3 separate regions of the Homo sapiens genome follow, and regions 1 and 3 are each linked to region 2. The links are contacts of gene promoters, found by promoter capture Hi-C in blood cells and fetal thymus (Javierre and others, 2016). All regions are on one chromosome and are shown on one strand. The core of a region is centred on a gene start or on the middle of the fragment in contact, and the rest is flanking DNA. Distances in the headings are between cores, read along the strand shown.

Evidence for each region. The method cuts DNA at HindIII sites, captures the fragments that hold promoters and counts their contacts. A CHiCAGO score of 5 or more calls a contact.
Region 1: the fragment with the promoter of FAM8A1 here is called in contact with the fragment with the promoter of SMIM13 in region 2 in 1 of 17 cell types (non-activated CD4 T cells); the score reaches 6.2 in non-activated CD4 T cells.
Region 3: the fragment with the promoter of RPP40 here is called in contact with the fragment with the promoter of SMIM13 in region 2 in 3 of 17 cell types (naive CD8 T cells, fetal thymus and non-activated CD4 T cells); the score reaches 6.4 in naive CD8 T cells.

Annotation. Positions count from the first base shown.
Region 1 is chr6:17,598,553-17,602,611 of GRCh38, forward strand. It overlaps FAM8A1 (family with sequence similarity 8 member A1), which reads left to right and starts at 1,750. Exons shown (of 5, transcript NM_016255.3): 1 at 1,750-2,569; 2 at 4,038-4,059. The coding sequence starts at 1,858. LOC102724591 (a long non-coding RNA gene) reads right to left here and starts at 424. Exons shown (of 5, transcript XR_007059485.1): 1 at 201-424. RefSeq lists a silencer at 1,609-2,088 and enhancers at 3,155-3,655, 3,656-4,059. The HindIII fragment of the contact is 5,181 bases long and covers 1-3,044 here.
Region 2 is chr6:11,090,585-11,095,307 of GRCh38, forward strand. SMIM13 (small integral membrane protein 13) reads left to right here and starts at 3,250. Exons shown (of 2, transcript NM_001135575.2): 1 at 3,250-3,805. The coding sequence starts at 3,730. RefSeq lists enhancers at 2,857-3,397, 2,940-3,149, 3,398-3,939, 3,820-3,939 and a silencer at 3,410-3,719. The HindIII fragment of the contact is 2,504 bases long and covers 2,613-4,723 here.
Region 3 is chr6:5,001,734-5,005,921 of GRCh38, forward strand. It overlaps RPP40 (ribonuclease P/MRP subunit p40), which reads right to left and starts at 2,304. Exons shown (of 8, transcript NM_006638.4): 1 at 2,147-2,304; 2 at 368-512. The coding sequence starts at 2,269. LYRM4-AS1 (LYRM4 antisense RNA 1) reads left to right here and starts at 2,083. Exons shown (of 4, transcript NR_126015.1): 1 at 2,083-2,226. RefSeq lists silencers at 1,905-2,154, 2,285-2,414. The HindIII fragment of the contact is 5,117 bases long and covers 1-4,188 here.

The DNA of each region.
Region 1 (4,059 bases), core at 500-2,999, 6.5 Mb after region 2:
ACAAAAAAAATTAGCTGGGCGTGATGGCGGGCGCTTGTAATCCCAGCTACTTCGGGAGGCTAAGACAGGAGAATCACTTGAACCTGGGAGGGGGAGGTTGCAGTGAGCCGAGATCGCACCATCGCACTCCAGCCTGGGCGACAAGAGCAAAACTCTGTCAAAAAAAAAAAAAGAAGGAAAAGAAAAATTATCTGACCTACCTTGTTTAACTGTTGTAGGCCACAGCCCCCATTCCAGAGGGTCCTGTTCCATACCCAGAAGGAATGAATGCTGCAGACAGGCCAAGGAGAATCCAGATAGGCCTTGCTGGGTTTCTTGCCTGTTTGCATCAGAGTGTTTTTTGTCCAGTCATTTTTTTTGAGACGGAGTCTCGCTCTGTCGCCCAGGCTGGAGTGCGGTGACGCAATCTCGGCTCACTGCAAGCTCCGCCTCCCGGGTTCACGCCATTCTCCTGCCTCAGCCTCCTGAGTAGCTGGGACTACAGGCGCCCGCCACCACGCCTGGCTAATTTTTAGTATTTTTAGTAGAGACGGGGTTTCACTGTGTTAGCCAGGATGGTCTCGATCTCCTGACCTTGTGATCCGCCCGCCTCAGCCTCCCAAAGTGCTGAGATTACAGGCGTGAGCCACCGCGCCCGGCCTTGTCCAGTCATTTTTTTATACGGCTGTCCATGCTTTGTTGAACCTAAGCATACAAATACACGATTTCCCTTGTTATCTTTGGGTCTTCATTCTGAAGGCTCCCGTGTCACATAAAACGATGGTCAAATCAATGTCTATGTCTTTTCTCCTATTAACTGCCTCCTGTCAGTGACTTTCAGCGAAACTTCAGAAGGTGAAGCGGAAGTTTTCCTTTGGCCCGGACAGCATCATCATTAATATCATTAATAAATATTCCCACAGTATTTGGCCCTTGTATGTCCTTTGTATGGTGCTGGGGATACAATAACATATCGCTGCAGAGATTTTCAAATGTAAAAGAAGAGAGATTATACTGATTTAAAAGCTAGATTCTGTCCTCACCCTGGAGCTAGTCTGCATTTACGAAAACTTACTTTCCACTGCGGTAGACAGACGCTTTCTACTCCAGCGCAACTGTGCCTTTCCTCAAATCTAGTCTCAAATTTAGGTTCCTTTTCATTTTCTGTTATGGAAAGGCCCTCAGCGTATCCCAGGCTTTGGAGCCTTTTGTTAGTAGTCTGGCCCATGCATAATTTCCCCTTCCTCTGAATTATACATAGCACCTCACTAGTTATATTTTAATACACTTTCCTATGTCTCAGTGGTAGTTTCCTATATTAATATATATCCCAGTTTAGTTTGGCTTTTAATTTCTTTTCTTCTAAGGGGATAGATGCGTTCTGTACCACCTTCTCGAGTACTAATGGTTAACTGGAATGAACACAAGCAACAAACCCTCCGGCCTGGATCCCAAAACAACAGTCGCGGTTCTGCAACAGAAAAGGCTGCGCTGGCCCTGGGACCTGTCTCGGAAATACTCCTCATCCATCTAGTTTCTCCCAGGACAACTAGGCCCAACCCCACGGGAATATACAGAGAGGCCTCGGGTCACAGACTTAAAGCTGTAAAAGGGAGGAGGCGACGGTCTGGTCCCAGTCACCGACCAGCCACCGACTACTAGGGCCCGAACCCGGGACTGCAGACGCACCTCCCCGCCCTCCCTTCCCAGCTCCGCCTGGCGGCGGGCGTTGCTCCTGAGGGGCGGGGCTTCCGCTTCCGGCGGGGGATTGTTGACGCCTGCGGTTGCTGCGGTGGTGACGGGGCTGTTGGGGAGGGGCCATTGGGGGAGGGAAACGGAGCAGTGACAGGTATCCCAGAGGGTGCTGCTGAGGCGACGATGGCCGAGGGGCCCGAGGAAGCCCGAGGCCACCCTCCCGGGCAGGACGATGGCGGAGGGGACCACGAGCCCGTCCCTTCCCTGAGAGGCCCTCCTACCACCGCCGTCCCATGCCCCCGCGACGACCCCCAGGCCGAACCCCAGGCCCCGGGCCGGCCCACAGCCCCGGGCCTCGCGGCTGCCGCCGCAGCCGACAAATTGGAGCCGCCGCGCGAGCTCAGGAAGCGCGGGGAGGCGGCCTCCGGCTCCGGTGCAGAGCTGCAGGAGCAGGCGGGCTGCGAGGCGCCCGAAGCCGCGGCGCCACGAGAGAGACCAGCTCGGCTGAGCGCCCGCGAGTACTCCCGGCAAGTGCACGAGTGGCTGTGGCAGTCCTACTGCGGCTACCTCACCTGGCACAGCGGCCTGGCCGCCTTCCCAGCCTACTGCAGCCCCCAGCCCTCCCCGCAGAGCTTCCCTTCGGGCGGCGCTGCAGTCCCCCAGGCCGCGGCGCCGCCGCCCCCGCAGCTGGGCTATTACAACCCCTTCTACTTCCTGAGCCCCGGGGCCGCGGGGCCTGACCCGCGGACAGCTGCCGGCATCAGCACCCCTGCTCCAGTCGCGGGCCTGGGACCCCGGGCTCCTCACGTGCAGGCGTCGGTCCGGGCCACTCCAGTGACGAGGGTAGGATCCGCAGCCCCTTCGCGAAGCCCGAGCGAGACCGGGCGACAGGCAGGTGAGAAGCGCGAGGTGGAGGCTGGGCGGAGTAGAAGGGTTTTCGGGGGCCTGTGGGGTAGAGCTGGCACGCTTTTTAGACCTGTAACTGCTGCTTCTACTCTGATTGACTATCCTGCCCGTTCAGTTCACTAGCTATCGTTTGTCCAGGCCCTAAATTCCCAAAATGTACAAGGAGGCAATACAGTTTCTTCTTCCTTTAGACCTGGCACTCCAAATTGACTCCCTTACTCATGGGACTAGTTGTTTATTCGTGAAAAGAAATTGCTCTTCAAACCATCCTCTTCCTTTGGTTTTCACGCTCTGCAGTGAGGGCCAAAGCTAAATTCGCAAATGGCAAACCCACTTTTGGAGGGGCTCGACTGGTAATGCTGAAAATTATTCAGACATTGGCTACTTAGGACAGTGGAACTGAACGGATATAAAAGGAGATCGACATGGATACAAGTGGAGTTAGGAAGTTTTGATTGGGTCAAAGCTTCACTTCATTTGATCAATATCTTGTATATTGTGTAATTGTTTTTGCTTCTGTGTGTGAACTAGAATATTTTGAATTAGTTACACTTCTTAGTTTACTATTTAAACTATTAGACTTTTAGTTTATTTTAGTTAGCCACAGATAGATGGGACAAGAACTAGTTGATGCCTCTGATCCCAGTCAGAATTTAGGATGACAGATTGATACTCACTGGGTTTATTTTAAAGAAAGCAAAACAAACTAAAAAACGGGTGGGGGGGGATTACAGGGATTTACTTTATACTAATTGCCAATATTTAACCTTGATTTGTACTAAAAAATGTTTAATTTTGTGTGACTTAGATGTGATCACCTGGATTCTCCTCATTAGAATTCCTAGTGAAATGTAGTGGGTACCCTAATCAAATTTATCTGTGAAATCAGTTTTCTAGGGGGAAAGTGGGGAGGGTGGGGACAAGGTCTGCTTCTATCGCCCAGCCTGGATAGTGCAGTGGCGATCTTGGCTCCCTGCAGCCTCCGCCTCCCAGGTTCAAGCCGTCCTGCCACCTCAGCTTCCCTAGTAGCTGGGACTAAAGGCATGCGCCACCACGCCCGGCTAATTTTTGTATTTTTTGTTGAGACGGGGTTTCGCCATGTTGGCCAGGGCCAGACTGGTCTCGAACTCCTGGCCTCAAGCAATCTGCCCGCCTCGGCCTCCTAAAGTGCTGGGATTACAGACGTGAGTCACTGCACCTGGCCGTGTGAAATCAATTTTTAAACGTTAAGGTGATGAAAGCAAACTTTAAGCTCAGTAAATAGTGGATTCTCTGTTACTCTATTTTAGTAACATGGATTCTTGGTGGAATCAATATCAATAGTTGCTGCACGGTTATAAATATTTTTTATTAAGTTGTACCTTGACTTTCTTTAGCAATTCATTACATGGCTTGTGTTCCAAGGCTTATGTGAAATGATTCGTTTTTCCTAACTTTTTTTTTTTTTTAATTTACAGGCAGAGAATATGTTATTCCATC
Region 2 (4,723 bases), core at 2,000-4,499:
CATGGAGAACATTAAAAAAATTACAGGTCCTCTATACCTCCTTCCCTGCCTTCAGTATTCCTGATATGAAAGTTACGAAATTTTTTTTTTTTTTTTAAACAGAGTCTTGCTTTGTCTCCCAGGCTGGAGTGCAGTGGTGTGATCTTGGCTCACTGCGACCTCCATCTCCCGGGTTCCACAAATTCTCCCTCCTCAGCTTCCCAAGTAGCTGGGATTACAGGCACGTGCCACCATGCCTGGCTAAATTTTTTTGCATTTTTAGTAGAGATGAGGTTTCACCTTGTGGTCCAGGCTGGTCTTGAACTCCTGACCTCAAGTGATCCTCCTGCCTCGGCCTCCCAAAGTGCTGGGATTACAGGCATGAGCCACTGCGCCCGGCCCAAAATCTAGGAATGTTTTTAAAGCTCCCTGGATAATTCCAATGTATAAACAAGACTGATAACTAGGTGTAGTGGCTCACGCCTGTAATTCCATCACTTTGGGAGGCCAACGCAGGCAGATTACTTGAGCGCAGGAGTTCGAGACCAGCCTAGGTAATATGACGAAAACCTATCTCTACAAAAAATAAAATTAGCAGGGCATGGTGATGCACGCCTGTGGTCCCAGCTACTCAGGAGGCTGAGGTGGGAGGATCACTTGAGTCCGGGAGGTCGAGGCTGCAGTAAGCCATTGGCTTAGAGGAGCTAGACAGACGAGTGAACAGGAGTCAGGGAGGTCTTATTGAGGAGGAATGTGGACAGACATTGCAGAAGTAGGAGTGAGGCTATCAGAAAGGAGGAAGCAGAACATTTTATATAGGGAAGAGAATAGTAAAAGGACTCTGGAAATAGCTGTGGCTTATTTTTTTATTTTTATTAAAATGGAGTCTCACTCTATCACCCAGGCTGGAGTGCAGTGGTGTGATCTTGGCTCACTGCAACCTCTGCCTCCTGGGCTTAAGCGATTCTCCAGCCTCCTGAGTAGCTGGGATTACAGGCATCTGCCAGCACGCCCAGCTAATTTTTGTACTTTTAGTAGAGACGAGGTTTCACCATGTTGGCCAGGCTGGTCTTGAACTCCTGACCTCAGGTGATCTGTCCACCTCAGCCCCGAAAGTGCTGGGATTACAGGTGTGAGCCACTGCATCCGGCCAGCTGTGGCAGACAGGATGAGACTGTCTCAAAAACAAAAATAAAAAACAACCATGCTTAGGCCCTACTCCCAGAGATTCTGTTCATTTGGTATGGGGATGAGGTCTAGCCATTCGTAATTTATAAATCTCCCTACGTGATTTGAAATGTGCATCCAGAGTTGAGAAACATTGAAAAGGCTTAGAGCAATGGCCAGGTTTATTTCCTTCTTGTGGGTTTTGCACTAGCTGTTCCCTTTACCTGGTATGTTCTTCTCTAGGTCTTTCCATGAATCCTTGTTGTCATTCAGGACTCAGATTAAATGTTACTTCCTCAGGAAGACCTTCCCTGATCCCCCAACAAGCTAAAATAACACACCTACATTTATCACACTGTCTTGCTATTAATAGCAGTTCCTGAGATTTCTCTATTTATGCTTATTGTCTGTTTTTTTCCAACTGTCATATAAGCATCTTGAGTAAAGGCACTTTGTCTTATTCACTGCTGTATCCCCAGCACTTAGAACAGTGCCTGGCCCCTATAGGTATTCCAATATATGTGAATCAAAGAGAAAAAGGTCCTTTAAAATAAATTATTTTAGTTCTTCCGATGGCTGTTTTCTTTTCTTTTCTTTTTTTTTTTTTTTTTGATAAGAGTCTCTCTGTTGCCCAAGCTGGAGTGCAGTGGTGTGATCTCGGCACACTGCAACCTTGGCCTCCTGGGTTCAAGCGATTCTCCTGCCTCAGCCTCCTGAGTAGCTGGAATTACAGGCGCCCACCACTACCCCCGGCTAATTTTTGTATTTTTAGTAGAGACAGGGTTTCACCATGTTGGCCAGGCTGGTCTCGAACTCCTGACTTCAGGTGATCTGCTCGCCTTAGCCTCCCAAAGTGCTGGGATTACAGGCGTGAGCCACCTCGCCTAGCCCTGACGCGTATTTTCAACTGGCTTTTAATAAAATGTGTTTTAATTATGCAACATAATTGAACCACCCATGAAAAAAGCACACACTGATTTTTTGTAAATATATCTTAATTGCACTGGGTTCATTCTCTTCACAGGAATCTATATTAAATCTGTTGCAAAGCAAGTAATTATCCTTTAATGTATTTTTATACATGGTATTTGTTCCTAATGTTGCTTCTTAGGGAATACAGTTCACATAGTAGGGCAGCTGGGTATGGCAGGATACATTTATTAAATCAAGGGATTGCTGCTTAGAACTTTTGTGTTTGTTTTTGGAGACAGAAGACAGGAAACTGTAATTTTTAGAAGAGTAAAAAGGTATCTCAGGGAGCAAAAGAATCACAGGAAAACTCGAAGGCTCTGATTCCTTCTAAAAGAGGGACACATTTACCCTCTATTCTTCTGGGGGCACCTCTTTAACAAATGAATGTAATCTGGCGGAAGTGGGGAGTTTCAATTTTGGGTGGAGATACAGTAGTTGAGATTACTACAGTGTCTTGTTTCGTAGAGGTGTAAGCCAGTGCGGCAAAATCTCCAAGCTTGGTCTCAAGGAGGCAGCTGGGTCTAACTTACAACTCAGGCAGGTGATTTGAGGGCAGTGCAGCTGTCCTTAAGTCACCCGCGGGCCATTTCTGAAATGCTTTACTTACGAAAAGATAGAACATAACATCTGTTGCAGGGGGAAAATGAGATTTCGTGTCCTGACCCGCGTCTGCGGCAGGGACCTGAGTTCTTCCTCCAAGTCCCAAATAGCCAACCTTCGCCCCCGGCAACAGGGCTAGGTGCACGAGCAACCAGTTTTTCAGGCAGCCGCCTCCTCTTTCCTCTCTCGCCGTACTTCATCGATTACGGCTAGAAACAAAACGACTTTGTATACGGAGTAATGGTTGAAATCTCACTGGCGCCTCAGCAGGACGGGCAGCCAGATCCGCGGCTTTGGAGAAGGCCAGCCCACGGTCGTCCGACTGAGGCGACTTGAGCAAGACCAAAGGCAGAGCCGCCCGAGAATGAAAGCAGCGAAGCCCGAGTGGCGGTGCATTCTGGGAGTTGTAGTCCCTGCGAGACAACGCCGTCCCGACTCCACCAGGCTCTGCACTCCATCTCCCAGCCGACCCCGCGCCGCGGAGGAGGCGAGCTTGGTGATGAGCTGCCCCAGCGGTAGGGGGCCTGGGGCGGAGAAGCCGCTACAGCCGCGGCCGGGCGACGCTGACATCTGGCATCCCTGGGGTCTCAGAGACACGGGTGGACAGCGACGAGGGCCTTGTGGCCGCCGTGTGTACCCGTGCTTACCCTCTGTCCTCCCTACAGGCGCGCGGCGTCCGCCATGGAAGCGCATCCGACCGCTGGGGTCTCTGGGTGCCGCGGCCTCGGCTCTCCGGGGCGATGAGGGACTAGAGGCGCCCTGAGGCCCGCCTGCCTCCCGCGCTCTGGCCACCCCGGCGGGAAAAGGATCGGGCGGGCGGGCGGTCCCACAGTGCCCGCCTTTGCGCCGCCCCACCCCCTGGGGGCGCTGCCGAGGGGGCGCCAGCCGCCCATGCCGCCCCGGCGCCCAGCCGCGCCTGGCGCCCGCCGCTGAAGCGCAGGACGCGCCGCCGCCCGCGCTCACCGCCGTCCGCGCCAGCCGCCCCGAGCCGACTGCCCTTCTGCCCCCAAGATGTGGCACAGCGTCGGGCTGACTCTGCTTGTGTTCGTGGCCACGCTGCTGATCGTCCTGCTGCTGATGGTGTGCGGTGAGTGGGGGCGGTAGCCGCGAGGCAGTTCCACACGCCGGGTCGCTGATCTGCTGGGGTTTTTTTTGTTGTTTGTTTTTTTGAAAAAAACAAAAGGGCGTGGACGGACAATTGTCTTAAAATCAACTGTTGTCCCTTAGCCTCTAGGGCTGAGCGCAGAGGTGGGCCCTTTACTCATGGCCGGCCCTCGGGCATCCTGGGGAGGGAAAGGACAGGCTCCAGGGCTTCCTGCCTCTGAGTGAAACTCAGCCTTGCTTCACCGGCAGCGTCTGCTCTTTCATTCTCACCACAGGCTGCCCAGATTGTAACCTTGGCCTGCATTCGAAGGTGAAGTGATTGATTGGTCCTTTTTCATTTGCACAGATTCTGACCTTAATAATGAGAGGTGTCACCTTCGTTTCATCAGCGAGTGGGGTAGAGTTGGGTTTTCAGCACGCGTGAAATTGTTTACTTAGAGTTCAGCCTTAAACTCAATTCCAAGCAGAGATGTGGAGACCAGGCAGAGCTTAGAAACACCGGCTATATTAAACTTGCAGGGTCGGGTAACCTAACTCTCAGTTCTATAATAATGGTGCTATTTCGAATGCTGTGCGTATTTTCCTTCTTGGAATGAGAGGACGTTCAACTTTTTTCTTCAAATAATGGTAGCCCAATTTTAGATCTTTTTGATTTCTTTGTACATGTATAGTAGCTGATAACCACAGGTCTCTTAGCAAAGTGGCTAAGCAATTGTGAAAATCTAAAAAGTACGTAGAACACGTGTCAGTGAGTTTACACATATTTATAAGACTGAAGTATGGGTTCAGGTTGATGTAATAATGGGTCAGAATTCATACAGATACTATAGGGCTTGTTCATTACACGATAAATGTACAAATTAATACTTAGTGACGCTGTGGAATATATGTGTGCACTTGT
Region 3 (4,188 bases), core at 1,054-3,553, 6.1 Mb before region 2:
CTCTGAGACAGCTGCTGTGGGACTGCTGACAGCATAGTGTCTTTGCAGCCACATCTTCAACAGCAGTGCATCTGAACACAGACTGCAAGTCTCTCCTCTCCATTAATCCTCATTTTAAGGGGACGGATACTGTCATGTTACAACATCCCCATCCAACACTTGTGGCCAATTGCAATCAGAAACCACCACCTAAAGAGGGTACAAGAAAGAACAGGATGAGAATGCGGGGGAGAACGCGTGTGCACCTGACCACACAGACTATACCACAGGCCCTGTTTGAAACAAAACAACAGCCCTAGCATCGTGATGTGGTCTCCCTACCCTTCCTCATCCAGCCTTGTTCACAGCCATTTCAGGTTTTTCTTACCTTTCTTTATAAAGGTACTGATGAATTCAGGTGTAATTAATTCATGAAGAGGTAAATTCTTCACAAAGTAATAGGGTCCAGTGTTCATGACCAGGTTTTTCAGTTCTTCCGATAGTATCCCACATTCAGGAATGAGAAATGAAACCTATTGGAATGTGTAATACAAACAAGGTCTTACTTCCATGAAGATGAACACCCAGGTTTTTAGGAATGAAACAAAATCATGAAAGTTGTTATTTCTCCACGAGTTTCACTGGAACATAAAAACACGGGCAACAAAACTCTTATGTTAACTTACCTATCTCAGGCAAAGAGAAATCTGACTACTTAAGTTTTTCATTTCTGCATTCAAACGTACAGTACAGGAAGGGGATTGAACAGAATACTTTTAATGGAAAACTCGTGCTTGCATTTAATCTTTTGCAAATTAGCAATGCTGTATATTTTATGTCCTGTTCCTTTCACTATTTTATTTTCAAGGAAATATAGTATAATTGAATATCCCTTGATTTGTTTACCCTGGTGTTATCCTGGAATGAAACAAACTATCTGTCGGGGCATAAGGAATTAATTTATGGACATCCAATTACTAAGAATCTATGTGCAAGCAATGGTGCTCCTGTATGTTTTCATTTTCGAGACAGAAAAATGCAACAGGCGAGTTAAAGTATACATCCCTGACTGCTGTGATGAGCTTGACATCCAAAATAGGTGTTAAAAACAGGGCAGGCTTCAAATGTTGCCACATTGTAAAAGTCATCACTGTCCCAAGGCTCAAACACCAGCCTGTTCTGACTGATCAGGTCACCACTTAACATCTCTGAAACACTGCTCAGTCAAACCTGAGTTATTAAGCTGATCCATTTAAAGTGTAAAATGTTTAATCCCCCATGATAAGGTTAGTTTCTTGAAGTCTCTCAGATATCAAATTAGTTCCAACAACCAATTTAGAAAATCAGTCGCTTCGGCCGGGCGCGGTGGCTCACGCCTGTAATCCCAGCACTTTGGGAGGCCGAGACGGGCGGATCACGAGGTCAGGAGATCGAGACCATCCTGGCTAACACGGTGAAACCTCGTCTCTACTAAAAATACAAAAATTAGCCGGGCGTGGTGGCGCGCGCCTGTAGACCCAGCTACACGGGAGGCTGAGGCAGGAGAATGGCGTGAACCCGGGAGGCGGAGCCTGCAGTGAGCCGAGATCGCGCCACTGCACTCCAGCCTGGGCGACAGAGCGAAACTCCGTCTAAAAAAAAAAAAAAAAAAAAAAGGAAAATCAGTCGCTTCCTGGGCCGAGCCTAGGCAGGATGCTCTGGTGAGATCCACAGGTACGCAGGTGGGAGAGGGATTCAAGCTGGGGAGGAGGCAGTGGTGGGGAGGAGGCGCGAGACCCGCCCTGATTTGGGGAAAAAGCGAGGTGCACGTGGCTGCCCCACAGCCTAACTCCCTGGTCCCGGCCCTGAACCTCGAATCCCTCCCTGGACTCACTCCCAGTTCGGCGGGTTGACACGAGTGAGCAGCCAGAACGCCCCTGACAACAGCTCCCTCCAGACTGGGTACCGCCCCCACGCCCGGCGCATCCTGGGAGTTGTAGTCCTGTAGCCCTGCAAGCCACTGGCTTAGAGCAGTTAAGAGACTACAACTCCCAGCAAGCCGGGCGAGGGCCCCGCCCCTCCGCGTACCGCCGGCGGCCCCGCCCCGCGAAGCCTAGCACTCTCCCCAAACCTCTCTCGCACGCGGGGACTGAGCACGGCCCGAAAAGCCGAGGACAGCCGGACTCACCCTGTAGTTATAGTAGTGCGTCTGCACAAGATGCCGGTGGCGCGACTTGTGGTTGCCGAAGTTGGATTTCTCGCAAACCAGTAAGTGCCGCGGCGCCTCCCGAAGCCGGCGCAGCGTGGCCATGCTCTCCTGGGTTCCTGGTCCTCCCGGCCTCCGCTGGCGGGGCACGCCCCGCCCCTTCCTCCCGCCCCGCCCCTTCCCTCCGGCCGCATACCCGCTGCTGTGCGCCCCTGGCGGCGGTGGAGTGGGGATGGCGGCGCTGGATTTCTGAGCAGTTCTTAGACTTCTTAGGAGCCCACGCAGCCGCTCTTTGGTGGATGTCTGAAGCTGTAAATTCACTGTCCCAGTGGCTGGGAACCTGGCTCTTGCCTTTTCAACGCCACTTTTCCTCCGTCCCCGCCATCCCTTGGAATTGCCCTAAACCCTCTCTGTGGGCCCCGCCTCGGAGCGCCCCTTGGACCCCAGCCTGGCGCCGGCGCATACCTCGGTCAGGCCCCTCAGAGGGACCGCTTCCTGCCACCGTTATAAAAGGAAAACATCGCATGGAAAGGCCCAGTTCCTTTAGTATATGGTCAAGAAATGTAGCCGCACAGTTAAGTAACCCCCTAAGCTGCTTTGGGGGCCACACCCAGCTGCTTTCTGACTTCTCACACTGTTTGGTTCACAGGACTCTGTTACCCATTGGGGACCTCTTGGCCATTATTAACACAGGCCAACAGGACTAAAAGTTTGTATCAGTCCTTCCCAAAACATTAGGGAAGGTTGTGCGGGAAGGTAAAGCACAATTTTTGCCTTACAATAGGACTCCTTTGAAACTACTATTGAGTTCCCTTTTAAATAGCCCTTCAGAACCGCTTTTAATAATGTGTTGTTTCTGGGGGTTAATAGTGATAATTCTCCTAAGTCATTTTTCCATTTCGTTTTTCTGTCACGGGCTTGGAGCGGTTAAGAGACTGCGGCTCCCAGCATGCGGTACGTTACTGATCAGGGCAAAATCAAGTATGTTACTACATGCTTCTCAAACTAGAGAGGCACAGCCCCAATTCTGCACTGGCAGGATACAAAACAGCAGAATATTGGTGATACATCTTCCTGGAACATCAGTTTTTCTATGAGATGTGGAAGAAATGGAATTAAGTAGTTTACAAGGTAAATAATTAAGAATTTAAAACTAAGCCAGTCACAGTGGGTCATGCCTGTAATCCCAGCACTTTGGGAGGCTGAGGTGGGAGGATCACTTGAGCTTAGGAGTTCAAGACCAGCCTGGGCAATATAGTGAGACCCCATCTCCAAAAATAAAAATAAAACTAAGACAAGGCTGGAAAGTCATCTGCCATTATAAACATCAGTAATCTGGCCGAGCACAGTGGCTCACGCCTGTAGTCCCAGCACTTTGGGAGGCTGAGGTGGGAGGATCACTTGAACTCAGAAGTTCACGACCACCCTGGACAATATAGTAAGACCCCATCTCAAAAAAAAAAATTAAAACTAAGACAAGGCCGGAAAGTCATCTGCCACTAAAAACATCGGTAATCTGGCTGAGTGCTGTGGCTCACGCCTGTAGTCCCAGCAATTTGGGAGGCCGAGGCGAGCAGATCGCCTGAGGTCAGGAGTTCAAGACCACCCTGGCCAACATGGTGAAACGCTTTCTACTAAAAATACAAAAATTAACAGGGTGTGGTGGCGCATGCCTGTAATCCCAGCTACTCAAGAGGCTGAGGCAGAAGAATCACTCGAACCTGGGAGGCAGAGGTTGCAGTGAGTCAAGATCTCGCCACTGCACTTCTAGGCTGGGCGACAGAGTGAGACTCTGTCTCAAAAAAAAAAAAAAAGTCAAAATGTAATCTATGACTGAAATGTCACATTTTCTTTCCAAGGAAAAACCTAATGAGAACCTGTTTCCCATTATTTTAAACAGCAGAATTATAAGGCGTGGCAAGTTAATTAAAAAAAACCCTACTAATTTCCTAGATCACAATATGGCAGCTAGATGTTTTATAAATAACAGCTACTAATAACATGTTAAGATGTAAAAGGCTTAA